Regions from separate parts of the Homo sapiens genome. Here region 2 is linked to region 1. The links are contacts of gene promoters, found by promoter capture Hi-C in human tissues and cell types (Jung and others, 2019). All regions are on one chromosome and are shown on one strand. The core of a region is centred on a gene start or on the middle of the fragment in contact, and the rest is flanking DNA. Distances in the headings are between cores, read along the strand shown. Region 1 holds the start of SMPDL3A (sphingomyelin phosphodiesterase acid like 3A). Region 2 has its middle 39 kb from the start of PKIB.

Region 1 (3,917 bases), core at 565-3,064:
GAAAATACGCAAAATATTACAAACAAGGAGAATTGTGAAACTGCTGAGTGAACACTTCAGACCTTTGAACTCCAGTAACACTTCAGACTTTCGAACTCCAGTGACTCCAGTAACACTTCAGACCACTGAACTCCAGTAACCCCTCTTCCTTCCCCTTTAGTAGGAGGGGATTCAACCTTGCAGTTTCCCAAACAGGAGGTGTGAAGACTCACAGAGTCCCCAGAAAGCGCTCATTCAGGCCTCTTTAAAACACAGGTGAATTTGCCATTGTGTGGCCTCAAGCAACGTGAGACATTTTATTTCAAAACCCTAACCGGTCACATAATTAAAGGAACACAAGCTAAGCCGTAATAAAAGCAGAAACCAGTATACATAAACATTTTGGGGAAATTTCTTGTAATGACTGACATTTGCCACAGTTCGGAAACCAGATTTACAGTTTTTGCTTCAGACCTGACAGCTGAGTCGTGAGGACTTGGCCTTCAAAGAGAAGATATTTGCCCTAGAGCGCTCCCAAGTCCTGAGAAAGCACAGAGGGAGCGAAAGAGGTTTCAGCACTAGGTGCTGCTACCGAGTCTCAGGGACAACTCTCCCCTAAAAGAAAACAGAACCCCACTTCTCTAATTTTGTTTTTCCTCTTAACAGTGCAATTATTTTTAAAGGGAGTTGAGGAGGTGAGGGCACCTTGATTTTTGGAACTGGAGGCTCGGATGGCATTGTACAATCTCCCACCAAAATGTATCTATTCTGGACCAGTGAGTCTCAAACTTAGCCGAAAGGAATCATGCGGAGGGTGGGTTAAACAGCATACTGTGGAAGCCCAACGCCGGCGTTTCAGATTCAGTAGGTCTGGGATGGGCTGGAAATTTGCAATGCTAACAATTTTAAGTGCGGCGGCTGCTGCCACCGGTCCAGGGCACACTTAAGAGAATCACTACTGTAACGGGCACTGTGTTAAGTGCTGGGAGTGAATAAAATGGGTCCCGCCCGCAGGAAACCTAGTGGACATCCAGGTGAAATGAAGTCCCCGTGAGTTCCACGGTAGACTAAGGGGTGAGTCTACCCGAGGGTGCTTTCGCGCTCTGGCTGGGTGAGTGGCAGAAAAAGCCACTGATCTCGGTCGAGCAAGACAGAAGATAGTGTGAGTCACGCTGAAATTTACTTCCCTGAGCTGGTGGGGAAACTGCAGTCCCCCTCCATTCAGGACCGATTAGGGGCCTCTTGCTGTGCTGGACATCGGACTCCCAGCTTCCTCTTCCCTTGAGTCCCGCAGCTTTTCCTTCCTTCCCCAAGGAACAAAACAACTGAGATGCAGGATGTAAACAAAAGCCAGGCTGGCGAAATCCGGCCGACGCGCCCTTGGAGCGCCCCCACCGGCGAGGGCATTTCCCCCGCCCAGCCCCGGCCTCCCGGCTGGACGCCCTAACGCTGTAGTCCCTTGGTCGCCCTCCCCGCGCCCACCAGCCGTGGTCAACGCCGGACGCGTCAGGGGCCCCGCTAGCCCGAGCCTCTGCCGGGGGCAGCTGCCCCCACGCACTTTCTCCTGCTGTGCGCAGGCGCCGCCGCTCCGCGCTCTTTGCCGGCTGGGAAGAGAAGGGTCGCGGACAACTCACCTATCGCCGGAGGAGGATTCCTGCCGCCTGCGGGCGCCACGGGCAGCCCGAGGCCGGAGCGGCAGTGCCAGGCAGTCAGCAGGCAGCAGACGAGTGCGCGCACCAGCGCCATGGAGGGCCGCGGGGCTGACCTGGAGGTTCGGGCTGTCCCGCAGCTCCACTCGGACCGTCAGGCCTGAGGGTGAGGCGGAGACAGAAGACGGCTGCGGGTGTAGACGTCCGACTGATCACGTGCAAAGGCAGATTCCGCAGCGAGTCAGTTCGCCTGACCTTCAGCTGCTGTTTAGCGATGATCTGTTCTCGTATTTCTTAGCGTCAGTGTTTGGCCTAGGAAGGAATGTACTTGTAGAAGCTCAAATTCCGACTCGTGTATCAGTGGTGCAGTTGATGTCAAACACTGACATACTGGTGCTTGGGGATAGAGAAAGACATTCAATTTAGTAAAAGCCAGAAGGAGGGAGAACAAGATCTCTCAAATCCGTGTGTAAAAAGGAAAAAGCAGGGAGTTTTTATTCTGCTAGAGAATAAGAGAGGGGGATTTTCAAAGAATCCAGGGGAAAAGTCTGTTTCTTCAGTCTCAGATAACACCTTTGAGCAATTAGACGTCCAGGCATCCGCAGCTGGTTGCAAAGCCCTTGGAGGTATTCATCCCTTCTGCAAACATTTTTGTGACCCTGAAGTTAACCTCTTTGTTCTTGACGAGGAAGCAGTACCTCAGCAGTTTATAATTATATTGTGGAAACAAGGAGAATATTGGGCAAAAAGCGAGTGGTTAAAATGTGCAAGCAAGCAGGAGCCTGATCAGAATTTTCATTATTTCAGTCACTAAAAAATGCTGGGGTGCTGAAATCTCAACGATCCCGGTTCCATTCTTGGGCCAACCTACCCCAGCTTTAATGGGTAGGGCTCCTCAGTAGAGGTGATGCAGAGAGCCCTGAAGTATCATGATTTGAAGGAAATCAGCAAAAGTTATGGATACTGCAGTGGATCTCGAATTGAAGTCTCTGAACTGGGAACATTAGCACCACCTGGGAACTCTAGTTAGAAATGCAAATTCCCAGGCACCACCCTAGACCTGTTGAGTCAGAAACCTGCTGGAGCCCAGCAGTTTGTGTTTTCACAAGCATTTCAGGTCATGTTAAAGTGATTGTGATGTTTGAAAACCAATGCTCAAAGATACGACGTTTTGTTTTTTGTTTTTTTTAAACTGCCGGGAAGAGAAGGGTCTTAGAATTAGAACATGTTCTGAAATCATGCTTTATGCATTCCAGAGATGCATGGAAATCATAAGTAGAGGTGGTTGATTTGATGCTTCCACGGAACTTTTTTGAATATACTTCTGGCAAAGAAGTAAGTCTATACAAAGAAGTAAGCAAAGATAAGTCTGGCAAAGAAGTAAGTCTATACAAAGAAGTAAGCAAAGATAAGTCTGGCAAAGAAGCCAGAATCCCGAAACTGTGCTGGATCCTGTATTCTGTGTTCCTTCTCTCACCGTTTATGAGGATGCTGATCTCTTGGAGATGACAAGCTAATAATTTAAATTTATAGGGCGTGGAATTCCTTTGCAGAAGAAAATGCTTTCCATAATTACTAACCTCAAAAAAGATGTTGTAGAGTGTATTTCTTTCCCAGCATAGAAAGCTTTGTTTTGTATCCCATGTAATTTAATGGGAGTGTGTGTCATGAAACGGGCTTTGAAGTGGGAAGCAAGGTGCTTCCATTTTCTGTTTTGTAAACCAAAAATAAAATTTGAAGGCCCCCCACAACCATCTGAATGGACGACCATCTGTATGGACTCTTTCCCCAGTCAGGGCACTCTAAAATTTAACCTGAAAGACTGGTTCAGGCCATGAAAAAGGGGATGGGGGGGTTGGACATGCGTAATTAACATCAACATAGACCATAAGTCTGATAAGAAACATTTAAGATCTGTTTTCTCTAAAGCCTGCTACGTGGAGGCTTCGTCTGTGTGACAAAATCTGGGTCTAACAACCCCTTATCATAACCCAGACATCCTTTCTATTGATAATAACTTTTTCAATCAACCAATTGCCAATCAGGACATGTTTAAATCTTCCTGTGATCTGGAAACACCCACCCCCCGCCCAGCTTCAAGTTGTCCTGCCCGTCTAGATCGAACCAATGTAAAAATCTTACATGTATTGATTGCTGTATCATGTCTCCCTAAAATGTATAAAAGCAAGCTGTATCCTGACCACCTTGGGCACATGTCAAGACCTCCTGAGGCTGTGTCACTGGCCCATCCTTAACCTTGGCAAAATAAACTTCCTAAATTGATTGAGA
Region 2 (3,917 bases), core at 717-3,216, 220 kb after region 1:
TCATGGGCTCAAGCGATCCTTCCACCTCAGCCTCGCGAGTACCTGGGAGAACATGTGTGTACTACCAGCGAATTTTTGTATTTTTTGTAGAGATGGGGTCTTGCCATGTTGTCCAGGCTGGTTTTAACCTTCTGGGTTTAAGTGATAAGATCACAGGCATGAGCCACTGCGCCCAGCCAATCATGATGTATTATCTTTTGGATGTGCTTTTGGATTCAGTTAGCTAGTATTTTGTTGAGGATTTTGCATCTGTTTTTATCAGAGATATTGGTTTGCAGTTTTCTTTTTCTCTTGTGTCCTTTCCTGGTTTTGGTATTAGTGTTATACTGGCTTCAGAATAACTTAGGGAGGATTCCCTCTTTATCTTTTCGAATAGTTTCAGTAGAATTGATGCCAACTCTTCTTTGAATATTCTTTGAATTCAGCTATGAATCCATCTGGTCCTGAAATTTTCTGTGTTGGCAATTTTTTCATTACTGATTTAATCTTGCTGCTTGTTACTGGTCTGTTCAGGGTTTCTAGTTCTTCCTGATTTGATCTAGGAGAATTACATGTTTCCAGGAAGTTATCCATTTCCTCTAGATTTTCTAGTTTGTGTGTATAAAGGTGTTCATACTAGCCTTGAATGTTATTTTTTTATTTCTGTAGTATCTGTTGTAATATTGCCAGTTTCATTTCTAATTCAGCTTATTTGAATGTTCTCTCTTCTTTTCTTGGTTAATCTCACTAATAGTTTATCAATTTTGTTTATCTTTTCAAAGAACCAGCTTTTTGTTTCATTTATCGTTTTTTTTTTTGTTTCAATTTCATTTAGTTCTGCTCTGATCTTTGTTTTTTTTTTCCTTCTGCTACATTTGGATTTGCTTTGTTATTGTTTCTCTATTTCCTTGAGGTGTGACATTAGGTTGTCTATTTTTGCTGTTTCAGACTTTTTGATGTAGGCATTTAATACTATTAGCTTTCCTTTTGGTACTACTTTTGCTGTATCCCGGAGGTTTTGATAAGTTGTGTCACTTTATCATTCATTTCCAATAATTTTCAATTTCCATCTTAATTTCATTATTAACCCCAAAATTATTCAAATGCAGATTATTTAATTTCCATGTATTTGTATAGTTTGGAGGGTGAGTTGCTTTTAGATCTAGCAGTAATTGTTTTATAAATCTTGGAGCTCCTGTGTTAGGTGCATATAAATTTAGGATTGTAATATCTTCTTGTTGAACTAATCATTTTGTTATTATATAATGTCCTTCTTTGTCTTTTTTTATTGTATTGTTTCAAAGTCTGGTTTGTCTAATGTAAGAATAGTGACTCCTGCTTGCTTTCAGTTTCCATTTGAGTGGAATACCTTCTTCCACCCCTTTACCATGAGTTTATGTGTCAGTTTCCATTTGCGTGGAATACCTTCTTCCACCCCTTAACCATGAGTTTATGTGAGTCCTTTTGTGTTAGATGGGCCTCTTGAAGACAGTAGACATTTGGTTAGCGGTTTTTTAATCCATTCTGCTATTCTGTACCTTTTCAAGTGAAGCATTTAGGCTATTTACATTCAACCTGAATATTAAGATGTGAAGTACTGTTCTATTCATCATATTAGTTTTTACCTAGATACTTTGTTTTTCTTCATTATGTTAATGTTTTATAGGCCCTGTGAGATTTATGCTTTAAGGAGGTTCCATTTTGATATAGATCAAGGTTTTGTTTCAAGATATGGAACTCCATTTAGCATTTATTGTAGTGCTGGTTTGGTAGTGGAAAATTTCCTCAGCATTTGTTGAAAAATACTTTATCTCTCCATTTATGAAGCTTAGTTTTGCAGAATGCAAAATTCTTGGCTGACAATTTAAGGAGGGTAAAGATAGGACCCCAATCCCTTCTGGCTTGTAAGGTTTCTGCTGAGAAATCTGCTGTTAGTCTGATAGTTTTTCTTTTATAGGTTACCTGATGCTTTTGTCTCACAGCTACCAAAATCCTTTTCTTCATGTTGGCTTTAGATAGCTTAATGACTACGTGCTTTGGTGATAATCTTTTTGCAATGGAATTTCCCAGGAATCTAAGCTTCTTGTATTTTGATATCTGTATATCTAGCAAGGCAAGGGAAGTTTTCCTCAATTATTCCTTAAAATAAGTTCTCCAAACTCTTAGACTTCTCTTCCCCCTCAGGAACATCAATTATTCTTAGGTTTGGCCATTTTACATAATCCCATATTTCTTGGAAACTTGGTTCATTTCTTTTGCTTCTTTTTTCTTTATCTTTGTCTGATTGGGTTAATTCAAAAGCCTTGTCTTCAAGCTCTGAAATTATTTATTCTACGTGTTCTTGTCTAATATTGAAATTTTCACTAAATTTTGTATTTCTCTAAGTATGTCTTTTATTTCCAGAAGTTCTGATTGTTTTTTTTTATGATATCCATCTCTCTGAAAATTTTTTCATTCATATCCTGAATTTTAAAACATTTTTTATGTTGGTTTTCACCTTTCTCTGGTTATTTCCTAGAGTAGCTTAATAATCAACCTTCTGACTTGTCTGGTATTTCAAAGATTTCATCTTGGTTTGAAGCAATTTTTGGGGAGTTAGTTTGATCTTTTGGGGGTGTTACAGAACTCTCTTTTGTCATATTACCAGAATTACTTTTCTGGTTCCTTTTCATTTGGATAGACTTTTCTTCAAAATTTTCTTGAATTTATTTTTATTTGACTGTGGTTTTTATTTAATTTCTTTTTTTCCCTCTTAGGAATCTGACTTTAACGTTTATAGTTTATTGCAGGCTAATTTAATTCTTGGTGCTTTTAGCAGGAAAGACTCTGTATGACTTCCTTAGTTATAGAGGGTCTTTGTGCACTGGCTTTTCCAGATGCTTGTTGTAGTAGTTATGTTCATGGTGTGTGGGCAAGTTCACTGTCTCATATGGGGTTGGAATGGCAAGGATTTTTGAAGCTTATCTCATTCTCCCATGGTGTATGCTTTTTTATTTACTTAATTTTTCTCCAGTGTTTTATTTACTGATTTGATGATCCAGGCTTCAGGTTAGTAGGGGAGTTATCCCTGGGTAGGCACTGGTTGTAGCTAAAGCAGGTGGGTAGATGTAATACCCAATGGTGGGCAGACGTCCCAGCCTTGTTGAAGGTGGCTGGGAAGCCCTCAATTAGATGTACAGAGGTTTTATCAGGTTGAAAGGTGGGAGCACCTCAGCTACCCTGCCAGGCCAGCAGGGAAGGCATCTACTTCCCAGCTTCATTTCTATCCCAGTGTTCTGGCTATTCAGGTTAGACAGGCTCCTCTTTTCATCTGTAAGAATGTTGATATTCTAAGTAAAGAGGAGTTGTGACTCTGCCTCTCATGAAAGCCTGACCTGGAAAGTGCTCTTCCTGTGGGGATGCAATCACCCTGACTTGTTCTAGGAAAGCTGTCTGTAGGTGCATCCATGTTGCATTCCTGTGGGAGAAGCCCCAGCTGTGTCTTCAGTGGTGTACTCATGGGAATAAGGACACCGTCTCCAAGACCCTTAATGATCAGAGAGGTTGCCTCCCTGTTGGGATAGAGGTTCAGAGCAGCACTGTAATTGTGTCTCTGCTGTAAGAAACTTCCCATTAGTGGAAAGATCTGGGACTCAAGAACTGCTGTTCAGATTCTTTTGTTCCACGGGGTGTTCCCTTGATGTGGTTCTCTCTCCCTTCCCCTAAGAATGGGAATTCCTGAGAGCCAGACTACAGTAACTGTTATTGCTCTTCTGGGTATAGCCACCGAGTGGAGTTACCAGACTCCAGACTGGTGCTGAGGAATGTCTGCAAGGGATTCAGTGATGTGACCTGTCTTCAAGTCTCCCAGCAGTGGATACCAGCACCATTTCTGACGAAGGTGGTAGAGGAGTGACGTAGACTCTGTGAGATTCCTTGGTTGATAGGCTTAGTGTGCT

Evidence for each region. Contacts are between HindIII fragments. The study calls those that stand out against the background at their distance.
Region 2: a contact is called between a fragment that was not itself captured here and the fragment with the promoter of SMPDL3A in region 1, in 3 of the 25 tissues and cell types used here (heart right ventricle, stomach and thymus).

What each region holds. Positions count from the first base shown.
Region 1 is chr6:122,787,155-122,791,071 of GRCh38, reverse strand. It overlaps SMPDL3A (sphingomyelin phosphodiesterase acid like 3A), which reads right to left and starts at 1,814. Exons shown (of 8, transcript NM_006714.5): 1 at 1,614-1,814. The coding sequence starts at 1,725. RefSeq lists silencers at 94-388, 1,494-1,788 and enhancers at 1,003-1,502, 1,503-2,004. The HindIII fragment of the contact is 4,348 bases long and covers 1-3,628 here.
Region 2 is chr6:122,569,534-122,573,450 of GRCh38, reverse strand. It overlaps a transcript of PKIB not described here. Among named protein-coding and RNA genes, the nearest start is that of PKIB, 39 kb to the left of the region's middle. The HindIII fragment of the contact is 3,594 bases long and covers 170-3,763 here.